Linked DNA regions of Homo sapiens: region 1 is linked to region 2. Evidence: promoter capture Hi-C in 16 types of primary human blood cells and fetal thymus (Javierre and others, 2016). All regions are on one chromosome and are shown on one strand. Each heading gives the region's core, a stretch centred on a gene start or on the middle of the fragment in contact. The rest is flanking DNA. Distances are from core to core; before and after follow the strand shown.

Region 1 (6,318 bases), core at 359-2,858, 490 kb before region 2:
TGCCGACAATCTGATTGCTACAGCTGGATATTTTTTCTTTCCTCTCCTTCAACTTGAAGAAAACACCCTCCTACTCACTCCCGCTGCCCTGCCCTGCCCATGGGAATCACTCTAGAGTTTAACAATGTTGTCTGTCCTCTGTCTGTAACTTTGGGAAAACAGGTGAGCTGGGAAGCAGCAGGTGAGCTGGAGTACAGAGTACAAAAGGGCACACTGGGGCTTTGGCTTCTGTTCTGATGGATTGCCAGGGTGTACAAAGCAGTTCTCATGGAAAAGGCATCATGGCAATTTGTTTACTGTGGTTAGTCTTGAGGATCTGCTGTTAATTTAGCCATATATGTGTACACACACACACACACATGCATGCAAATGTGTTAAGAACTATAAAGTTCTCTACAATCGTTATTTAAATATCAGAGACGCTCTTGGTTGAGCTTTTGTTTTTTTTAGAGACAGTCTTGTTCTGTTGCCCAGGCTAGAGTGCAGTGGTGTGATCATAGCTCACGGTAACCTTGAACTCCTGGGCTCAAGAGATCCTCCTGCTTCAGCTTCCTGAGCAGCTGTGACTACTGGCATGGGCCACTATGCCTGCCCAATTAAAACAAATTTTCTTTTGTGTAGATGCGGTCTCAATATGTTGCCCAGGCTGCTTTCAAATTCCCGGCCTCAAATGATCCTTCCACTTCAGCCTTCCAAAGTACTGCTATTATAGGCGTGAGCCACTGCCCTTGGCCTCCAGCCAGCTTTATAGAACATAACTACTGTGAATAATGAAGGTAAACTGTACTTTGCCTCACCCAAGATGGTGGGACCTGTAAAGATTCAAAAGTGCCGGCTGGGCGCGGTGGCTCACGCCTGTAATCCCAGCACTTTGGGAGGCCGAGGCGGGCGGATCACGAGGTCAGGAGATCGAGACCATCCTGGCTAACACGGTGAAACTCTGTGTCTACTAAAAATACAAAAAATAGCCGGGCGTGGTGGTGAGCGCCTGTAGTCCCATCTACTCGGGAGGCAGAGGCAGGAGAATGGCGTGAACCTGGGAGGCGGAGCTTGCAGTGATCCGAGATAGCGCCACTGCACTCCAGCCTGGTTGACAGAGCGAGACTCCGTCTCAAAAAGAAAAAAAAAAAAGAAGATTCAAAAGTGCCTAAGAAGGTTTGAGTGGGCATCTAGGCTCCTGGGGAACATCTGTGTTCCGGTGTTCCACAGCCTGAACCTCCAGCACTCTGTGAGCTCAGAGTGGGGCCCTCTCTCCTCTGCACCCCAGACACCAGCATTAAGTTACTGCTGCTCCTCCCAGCAACCCAGAGGTACCTCTGGAACTTTGTGGCTCAAGCTTGATGTTAGTGGATGTGTTTGATTCTAGGGGCGGGGAGAAGTCTGCAGGAACTTCTTCGGCGGCAGTGTAGAGACTGCTGCTTAGGGCCAGCCTGGGTGGGAACAGATGGGGCTGCTCACCTCCCAGCTGAAGCAAAAAAAAAAAAAAAAAAAAGCAGGGAGGAGACTGCCCCCTATTAGAGGAGAGAAACAGAATTCACAGCTGGAGACACTATTTGGGGGTTGCAAAGAGAGACTATACATTGGATTTGAACCATGAGGTTGGAAGCTGATGGGACTGGGAACAAGTTGGGCTGGAGCAGATGAAACAGGGAGATGTGAACAAAAGAACACCAAGGAGGGGAGCACCAGAGAGGAGCAAAACACATGTCACCCTGCCCATATCCCTCCAGTGGGGGACACAGATGCCAAATAGATAAGCAAAGTGTATCATTATAAATTGGGGGACGTATTATTCAGAAAAGGTAGAGGGCTGTGAAAGAGAATAACAGAGGGGCTTTAACTGAGATGGGGATGGGGGAAGCCAGGAGAGGCCCCAGAACCAAGCTTTGAATTGTGAAAGGATGTGAACCAGGCTGCAGGGGCGCCCAAAGCACATTAGGAGCAGAATGGCCCACCTGGGGTCACCAAGATGGACAGGGCTGGGTGCCTTCCAGGACTGAAAAAACCGTCTGCCTGAGGGGCAGAGAGGCCAGTGGGGTCGGGAGATGAGACCGGGAACAGAGGCAGGGCCAGACCATACCGGCCTGCAGGCTGCGTGAAGGAGCTTGGAGTTTATTCTAAATGCAACTGTGCTCTGGGTGCCTGTCCTCACGGTGTGACTTTTAGGACCACCAAATATATTTGATGGCATTGTTCTATGTTAGAGCAAACTTGCAGATTTTATAAACATTTGAAGGGAGATACACTGCCACGTTTGCAAAGTTGTTTTGAAGGTGGAAGTGGGTGAAACTGTGTTCCTCTTTCTACTTTTAAAATATTTTGCCTTATTTTCTTAACGACTGCATTACTTTGATAAATGTGAACATTATGGGAAAAAGAGCCCCCTGTGCTGATGGCTGAAGTCCCTGGGTCCCATGGGGTAGATTCTGGGCTAATGCTTTATGTTCATGAAGTTTTATAAAAATTGTGATTTTGATTGGGATTGCACTGAATTTATGGATAATATAATTTAAGAAAAAGAGGCTGGGGGCAGTGGCTCATGCCTGTAATCCCAGCACTTTGGGAGGCCGAGGTGGGGAGATCACTTGAGGTCAGATGTTTGAGCCCAGCCTGGCCAAGATGGTGAAACCCCATCTCTGCTAAAAACGCAAAAATTAGCCAGGCGAGGTGGTATGCACGTGTAATCTCAGCTACTTGAGAGGCTGAGGCATGAGAATCACTTGAACCCAGGAGGCAGAGGTTGCAGTGAGCTGAGATTGCGCCACTGCACTCCAGCCTGGACAACAGAGTGAGACTTTGTCTCAAAAAGAACATTTTTTTTAAGAAAAAGTGTTATCTTTATGATAAAAATTAGCCAAACATGGTGGCATGTGCATGTAGTCCCAGCTACCTGGCCGTCAGGGGTTGGTGCTGAGGTGGGAGGATTGCTTGAACCTGGGAGTTCAAGGCTGAAGTGAGCTATCATAGTACCTTTTATCAAGGTCACTCAGCCCTGACCCAGGTGATTTAGCTTGTGAGGTCACCCATCACTGACCCCCTAGTCCTGCCAGCTGAGGGCCCCACACCCAGAGCTGGGGACAGTTTCTATTTGCCTTCTGCCTAGTTTGACAGGATCAGCTTCCTGGGTTTTTTTTTTTTTTTTTTTTTTGAGGCCGAGTTTTGCTCTTTGTTGCCCAGGCTGTAGTGCAGTGGCACGATCTTGGCTCACTGCAACCCTGCCTCCTGGGTTCAAGTGATTTTCCTGCCTCAGCCTCCCCAGTAGCTGGGATTACAGGCACCCACCACCATGCTGGGATACTTTTTTGTATTTTCAGTAGAGACGGGGTTTTGCCATATTGGTCAGGCTGGTCTCGAACTCCTGACCTCAGGTGATCCACCCGCCTCAGCCTCCCAAAGTGCTGGGATTACAGGTGTGAACACCGCCCCTGGCCCATGGGTACTTCTTTCTGCAGAAAAGCCACCTGTTAACAGAGGGCAGAGCCTGAGTTCAGAGGAATGAGCTTTAATGGGGGTATTCATAGCAGCACCAAGTGTGGGATGGGTGGGGTGGGAGTGTGAAGGGAGGGAAGCGTAATCATTTGGGGTTGATAGTCTTCCTGGAGGGAGGAAAACAACGTGAAATGTAGGAGTGGGGGAATCATTTTAATAAGGTAAAGGTAGATTATGGGCTAATGGTTTGTGTTCGTGATTCTCGTGGCGCCCAGTGTCCCTTGCATGAGGCCCCTGGTCATCTGCCCTGCACCTAGGGAGACAGGTGTGGTACAGAGGCCTCAGCATCTCACTCTCCATAATTCTGTCTCTCTTCTTCACCTCAGGAGGTGTGCAGCTAGGACACGTTGTGCCTCCTCTTCTCATCTGAATTTTCAATGGGGCAAAGGGCAGTTGGAGAAGATTCCCTCCAGGGATGCTCCCACCTTTCTGGTGGGCATAGAAGGGTTTTCTCCACTTCAATGCCAGCCTTTCCCTGTTCCAGCAATGCTTCCTTGACTACAGGCTGGTCTAGAGGTTTACCTGTTATTCCTTTATCCCAGCTTCTTGCATTTTTGCATGTCATATGCACATTTCCTAACCATCCTCCATGTGAAGAGTTTGGTCTCCCTCATAGGCCATTGAGGGTTTGCAGCTGTCATCTGGTACAGGTGTAGCCTCTGGAGTGTGTGGGCAGGCTCTTGTAGAACTGTTTATGGGAGAACCTCCTTTCTGCTGATGGAGTCCTCATGCAGTCCTAGCTGACAGCCACCAGGATGTGGGGAAATGTCCAACTACGGGAGTCCAGAGATCCTGCTCAGGTTGGGGTGGCCATATTCAAATTTGTCTTGCATTCTGGCAAAGAGCTATTTCTCCTGGTGTTTCTCAATTCTGCTGGACTTGGTGCCCCCTTTTCAAACAAATATCTTATAGTTCCACCTTTACCTTAATGAAATGAAGTTATGGATAATATAACTCATGCAGAAATCAATATCATGTCCTATCATATAAAACATAAATATATAAAATAAACATATAAAACATATAAACAAACAAAAAACATATAAAATAAAATAAAAACAATTAATAATAAAATAGTATTGTCAGTATTGTCAATATTCACCGACCAGAGACTACCAGGAACATACCAGCAGTAAAAAAAGGTAGGTTATTTAGTTTGCTGCAGGGAGGGAGAACACACCCCAGATGATTCACAATAAAAGGGAGTTGGGAAGGGCTCTCTCTTTTTTTTCTGAGATGGGGTCTCACTTTGTCACCCAGGCTGGAGTACAGTAGCGCGATCTCTGCTCACTGCAGCCTCAACCTCCTGGGTTCAAGTGATCCTCCTGCTTCAGCCTCCCAAGTAGCTGGGACTATAGTTGAGTGCCAACATGCCCGACTAATTTTTGTATATTTTGTAGAGATGGGTTTCACCATGTTGTTCAGGCTGGTCTTGAACTCCTGATGTCAAGCAATCCGCCTGCCTTGGCCTCTCGAAGTGCTGGTATTACAGGTGTGAGCCATTGCACCCAGCCTTATTTTCCTTTTCAAGTGGTTACATTTATTATTTTTTCCCTTCTGTAGACTGAATGTTTGTGTCCCCGGAAATTCATATGTTGAAATGTAATCTACCAATGTGATGTTAGGAGGTGAGACCTTTGGGAGGTAATTAGGTCATGAGGGTAGATCCCTCATGAATGGGATTAGTGCCCTTGCGAAAGAGACCCTTGTCTCTTCCACCATGTGATGATACAGGGAGAAGATAGTCATTTATGAAATAGGAAGCAGGCCCTCACCAGACACTGGATCTATTGGCACCTGGATCTTGGAGTCTCTTGGACTTCCCACACTCTAGAACTGTGAGAAATACTGTTTATAAGTTACCCAAATTACGGTATTTTGTTATAGCAGTCAGAACAGACTAAGACACTCCCTTTATGACTCATATATTTTGTGTTTTGCTTGAGAAAGCCTTTCTTTTCCTCAATGGATGGTTTAAACCCATTTTGCATACTTTCTGCTAATACTCTTTTTTCTTTTTTGAGATGGAGGCTTGCTGTGTCCCCATGCTGGAGTGCAGTGGCACGATCTCAGCTCACTGCAACCTCCGCCTCCTGGGTTTAAGCGATCCTCCTGCCTCAGCCTCCTGAGTAGCTGGGACTATAGGTGTGCGCCACCACGTCCAGCTAATTTTTTTATTTTTAGTAGAGACAGGGTTTCACCATGTTGGCCAGGATGGTCTTGATCTCTTGACCTTTTGATCCACCCGCCTCGGCCTCCCAAAGTGCTGGGATTACAGATGTGAGCCACCGTGCCCAGCCTTCTGCTAATACTTTTACAGTTAAAAAATATTTATCTTAGAGGGTATGATGTGAGGTTGAAATGTAGCTTTACTTTTTTCCAACTAGATAGCCCAACACCATTTATTCAACTGGCCACTCTTCTCCTACCATTTTGTCTTTTTTTTTTTTTTTTTTGAGACAGAGTCTCACTCTGTCATCTAGGCTGGAGTACAGTGGTGTGATCTTGGCTTATTGCAACCTCTGCCTCCTGAGGTCAAGCGATTCTCCTGCCTCGGTCTGCCAAGTAGCTGGGACTACAGGCATGTGTCACCATGCCTGGCTAATTTTTGTATTTTTAGTAGAGACAGGGTTTTGCCATGTTGGCCAGGCTGGTCTTGAACTCCTGACCTCAGGTGATCTGCCTACCTCGGCCTCCCAAAATGCTGGGATTACAGGCATGAGCCACTGCCCCCTGCCCCTTTTCCTAACATTTTGAAGTGCTCCTTTATCATATACTAAATTTCCATTTATACATTAGTCAGTTCTATTTGTTTATTTATATACCAAT
Region 2 (5,557 bases), core at 830-3,329:
GCTAACACGGTGAAACTCCGTCTCTACTAAAAATACAAAAAATTAGCCAGGCGTGGTGGCGGGCGCCTGTAGTCCTAGCTACTCCAGAGGCTGAGGCAGGAGAATGGCATGAACCTGGGAGGCAGAGCTTGCAGTGAGCCGAGATCACGCCACTGCACTCCAGCCTGGGTGACAGAGCGAGACTCCGTCAAAAAACAAAAACAAAAACTAAAACTAAAAACTGTACAATTTCCAGAAACAAAGGAGAACATCTTTGTAGCCTTGGATTAGGCAGATTTCTCACATACGAGATCATGAGAATAATCCATAACAGAAATAAAATGATAAATTAGACTATCAAAATTAAAATCTTGTTAGGAGAATGACAAGACAAGTCACAGACTGAGAGAAAAATATTTGCAAATCACATGACTAGCAAAGAACAAAGAGTACATACTCTATGATCTCTTATCTATAAAACTCTAGAAAAAGCAAACTAATCTATAGTTACAGCAAGTAGATCTGTGGCTGCCCAGGGATGAGGAGAGGAAGGGAGAGGAAGGAATTACAAAGAGCCACAAGGAAACTTTGGGGTGAGGAGGATGACTATGTGATGATGATTGTGGTGATGGTTTCAGGGGCACACACATATGTCAAAACTTAACAGATTGTATGCTTTAAATATATACACCATTAGACCTCAATAAAACTGTGTTTTTAAAAAATTATCTCTTTCTGTGAGGATGGTGGAGCCCATTCAGTGGTCAGAGGGTACCAGGAGAGAAGCTCATCCTAGGGTCTGAGCATCTGAAGGCCCCAGTTCCCTCTGCACCCCACCCCCACTGTGGCTACTCACTGTTGGGTTCAAAAGGTAAATGCCCAGTAATGTTGTCTCCCAGAATTACGGCTTGCACAGGCTTCGGAACAGGTCTTGTCTGCTGTTGAACTGAGACATTCCATTTTTCCAGGTCAGCAAATCCCCAGCCCTGAGCCTGGGAGGATACGCTGTCCCACACAGAGGTAGAGTTCCAGAACCGGGGAGATAGCAGCAAAGACCCTCCCAGGGTTTCCCTCATGAACCTCAGTTCTTGGGAGGCTCCCCCTTGGACAGTGGCCTTTATCTGTTCCCAGGGAAGCTGTGGCTTGGGCCTGGAGCTGGAGGTGGAATGATCTTTCTGGGAGCAGAGAGGCCCAGAGAGTGTGCATCTGGGGCCCCTGGGGACTTTGTGCTGAAAGGAGAGAAAGTTAGTGAGATTTGGGTCACCTGGGGGCTTACCCACTACAAAGAGAGTCACAAGAGAGAAGACCAAGGTCACAGCCATAAATGCCGGGGTAGCCTGAACGAGCCTCGGTATCTTGGGGGCTGCAGGAGCCATTGCCACAGAGTCCACCTCTGCAGGGGAGAAGGCAGTGTCCAAGGTGAGAGGGTGCTGTGCAAGGTAAGAGGGTGCTGTGCAGGCTGAGACACAGCCTCTCTGATTCTGTTTCCTGGGTTGTCTAATGGGGATGATAACTCCTGCCATGCTTATCATGCAGGTGGTTATGGAGAAGGAAGACAAAACACTTTGGGCTGTTCACCAGAGCTAGATGTGGATATGGTAGCAACACAGAGCTGAGGAGCTCTGAGACCGAGACCACCGATCTCCAAATCTCAAGGAGGCTTTGGTGGTGCACAGGGCACAGAACCTGGCACAGAGCACAGAGCAACAAAAGTGTAGTTTGAATGAAAGAAGAAAGGAAGGGAGGGAGGCCTCACAGGACCAGCTCAGTGTGCAGAGCCGGGATTCCAAGCCAGGACCATCTGAATTCAAAGTTCATCCCCTTTCTCTTGCCAGGTCTGCATCCCCAAGGACAAGGGTCTGGGGAGAGCAATAAGACAGCAATAAGCTGCCTTATGGCAGAGGGCCAAAGGACAGGCAGGCTACTCCCTCACTGGGCAAGAGCTGGGGCCCCAGTTTTCTCACCTTGGGGGTGCAGGGAGACACACTGGTTATCTGTGCAGAAGCGGACTGCCTCACCGTCCATCTCTGCTTCCTTGATCCTCCAGCACTGCTCCCAGCCACTGGCTCCTGGAAGGGCCGTCCCGTGGACCAATGGCAGTGGAAGCAAAGCTGAGACACCCACACTTATATGCTCCTGACCACCCTCCCAGCTCTTCCTCCCTCCCTGCCTGACTCTGCAGAAACCCGCCCCAGTGGGCCCCTCCCCTAGAGGCTCCCAGATACCCATCTGCCCTATTTTCTTCCTCTTCCCATTAGCACCTTCCCGTCAGTTCTCAGCCCCATCATCCCAGCCTCTGCCGCATCCAGCATAACCCCAAACACACCTCTTCTTCTCTGGGGGCTGGGACTGGCACCTAGGAAGGGGGTCTCAGCTTTGCACAGAAAACATCCTTATGACTATGGCTGACCTTTAATTCTAGCCTCAGAACCTCTTAAGTAAAAGGAGTCAGGTAAAAGAGGGGCCAGGTCAGTGCGGCCGATATTTGCAGGTCAAAGGAGGAAGCGGGGTGACCAGCCACTTGGGGACTCACAACTGAATTATAGTATACAGGAGGATGTGCGGAGGTTATATAAAAATACTACATGATTTTGTACAAGGGACTTGAGCATCTGTGGACTTTGGTACCCATGGGAGTCCTGAAACAAATCCCCTGCAGATACCAAGGGACAACTCTGTAAAAAATATATCTGGTCTTCATCTCAGTTCCTGACACAGAACTCCTAAAACGCTTAGAGTTTCCTGGGTGACAGGAGTGTTTTTTGTTATTCATAATAAGCCCCTTAGGACTACACTTGGGTTTATGCTAATGAGGTGACACAGGGTGGACCCTTAGATAATTTCAGGCTGGAGGCTGGTCCCAGAAAGACCAAACATGGGATTAGACTTTGGAAGACTGGGACTTTCAGCCACCCACTCCCATTCCCTACTCCCAGACCTCCAGGTATGGGAGATGGCCTGGGGTCTGGGCTATAACGACTCTTAAAAAATGAGATTCAAGGAGCTTAGGGATTGGTGATCCACATGCCAGGAGGGTGTCATGCCCTGACTCCACAGAGACAGAGTCTCCTGCACTTGGGACCCCACTGGGCCTTGCCCTGTGTACCTCTTCATCAGGCTGTTTTTGTCCTTTACAATAAAAGAATAGGAAGTACAGTGTTTTTCTGAGTTCTGTGAATTGTTCTAGTGAATTATGAAAACTGAGAGGTTGTTGCAGAAACCCCCTAATTTTTTGTTTGAGACAGGGTCTCCCTCTGTCACTCAGGCTGGAGTGCAGTGGTACGATCATAAGTCAATGCAGCCTTGAACTCCTGGACACAAGTGATCCTCAGTTCTCAGCCCCAACATCCCAGCCTCTGTCACATCCAGCATAACCCCAGCATAACTGGGACTACAGGTGTGTGCCAACATACCTGGCTAATTTTTTATTTTTATTTTTTTGTAGAGATGGGATCTCTTTTTATACCCCAGGCTGGTCTGGAACTCCTGGCTTCAAGTGATCCTCCCACCTCAGCCTCCCAAAGTGCTGGGACTACAGGCATGAGCCACCTTGCCTAGCCAGAACCCCCAAATTTGTAGTTGACCAGGCAGAAGTGGGGTCACTACCTCACTTGTAGCTAGCATCTGAAGGGGGGCAGTCTTGTGGGACTGAGGCCTTACCCTGTGAGATCTGTGCTAACTCTGGAAGTTAGTGTTAGAATCTGTTTGAATTGTTGGATGCCCAGCGGGTGTCAGAGAATCGGCTGGTGTCAGGAAAAAGCACACATTTGGTGTCAGAAGTGGTGTCAGAAAATACCAAGCAGGCCCCAACTTTAGCTGATTGGATCCATGCCTCCTGAGGTGACCAGGTTCTCAAGACTAACTCCAAAGAATCTGATGGAGCAGGCTGGGGCCAATGTGTGGCTTTCAATGAGCCCTATCCCTTCCAGGAGGAACAGATACTGCTTCAGGGGTTCCTGCTGCTGGGTGGGCCTAGCATTAGAAGAGAAGGCATGAGGCATCCCAGTGGACAGTGCCATGGAGCTGTGCAAACGTGATGTCCCTGTCCCTGCCACAGGGGTTACCAGCTGAACAGAACCAATATTCCCATGGCTGGTCAAGGAACCCCTCTAAAAGCCAGTGCTGGGGTTACCAGCAGATTCCTGTTCTTTGGTTCCTTCTTGTCTCCATTACTTCAAACGGTCACAATCTTTTTGAAATAAATCACATTTTCTTTCACTTTGGAAAGTCTAATTACATATTACACCATCATAGCAACTCTTAAACAAACTCACAACCTTGCAAATGGCTTGTTCCATCCATGTTGTGTTGTTTCTTTGCTACTTTCACCCTCTGTTCCTATGTCCCATTCTCATGTCTTTTGCACAGATCCTGGGGTCAGCCTCTTATAGGTCCCCAGCTGCCAACTAACAACACTGCAGACCAACCACAAAGGTGGAGAAGCCACACGGAACGTGCCTCCTCTGAGGCCGGGCCAGGAGAACAGCTTTGGCCCAGGAGGAGCCTGTGCCATGCGTGGCTGATGTCAACCCGGCAAGCAAGTCGCCCCGTGGGTAGGGGATCTGCAGACAGGAAGGGAGCGGTTGCCCACACCCAGTTCATGATGGTGGGGGTGTGTGTGTTTGTGTGTGTGTGTGTGTGTGTTGAACTGTGCAGTGTTAGGGGCCCAATGTGTAGAGTGCAGAGCCACCATTTGCTGCCTTTTACCTCCTGTTTGTTGAAAACTGACCTTAGAGAGGAGGGCACAGCAGGAATGAAGGGTGAAGGCACCTATTTCTGGACTATCAACAGCGCTGCCTGAGATCCCAGTGGTGTCTGCCAGACTCCTTCACCGCCACATAGAATGGGATGGAAGCTGCTGGAGGTGCCTCCCTAGAGGCCCATCAGACACCCAGGGCTGGTGGCTGAAAAGAAAGGGCTTGTCTTGGTTTCTGTTTCCCCATACACAGGAAGGGCCCAGGCTGGACCTACTCAGGACCTATTTCCTCCTGAGGCCTGAGAGCTGAGGGAACCTCGAAGGCAGAACTCTACGGATCCCTTGCCCAACTGGAAGGTCAGAGTCTGGGCCAGGAGAGGGGCATAGTTCTTCCCTGGCCTCCCCACCCACCCTCCGGGCCCTAGCTCTTCTATTTCCCACAGGAACACCATCTACCAGCAGGGCAGAAAAACCAGGGGGTTGCTATGTCTTCACTGAGAGGCTTTCTGTTCTCTGGCCAGACAAAAACAAATGGGCATTAATACAAGAACTGGCCAGGCACGGTGGCTCATGCCTGCAATACCAGCACTTTGTGAGGCCGAGGCAGGTGGATCACTTGAGGCCAAGAGTTCAAGACCAGTCTGGCCAACATGATGAAACCCTTGTCTCTATTAAAAATACAAAAACTAACTGGGCATGGTGGCAGGTGACTGTAATCCCAGCTACTCGGGAGGCTGAGACAGGAGAATCATTTGAACCTGGGAGGCGGAGGTGGCAGTGAGCCGAGATTGTGCCACTGCACTCCAGCCTGGGTGACAGAGCAAGACTCCAAAAAAAAAAAAAGAAAGAAAGAAAGAAAGAAAGAGTCTACTTGGTGGGACT

Evidence for each region. Contacts are between HindIII fragments. The CHiCAGO score rates a contact against its expected background, and 5 or more counts as called.
Region 1: a fragment that was not itself captured here is called in contact with the fragment with the promoter of CLEC4F in region 2 in 1 of 17 cell types (M2 macrophages); the score reaches 6.4 in M2 macrophages.

What each region holds. Positions count from the first base shown.
Region 1 is chr2:70,329,216-70,335,533 of GRCh38, forward strand. No RefSeq gene overlaps it. Among named protein-coding and RNA genes, the nearest start is that of FAM136A, 30 kb to the left of the region's middle. RefSeq lists a silencer at 602-896. The HindIII fragment of the contact is 548 bases long and covers 1,335-1,882 here.
Region 2 is chr2:70,818,520-70,824,076 of GRCh38, forward strand. It overlaps CLEC4F (C-type lectin domain family 4 member F), which reads right to left and starts at 2,080. Exons shown (of 7, transcript NM_173535.3): 1 at 1,944-2,080; 2 at 1,256-1,372; 3 at 836-925. The coding sequence starts at 2,004. The HindIII fragment of the contact is 10,753 bases long and covers 1-5,557 here.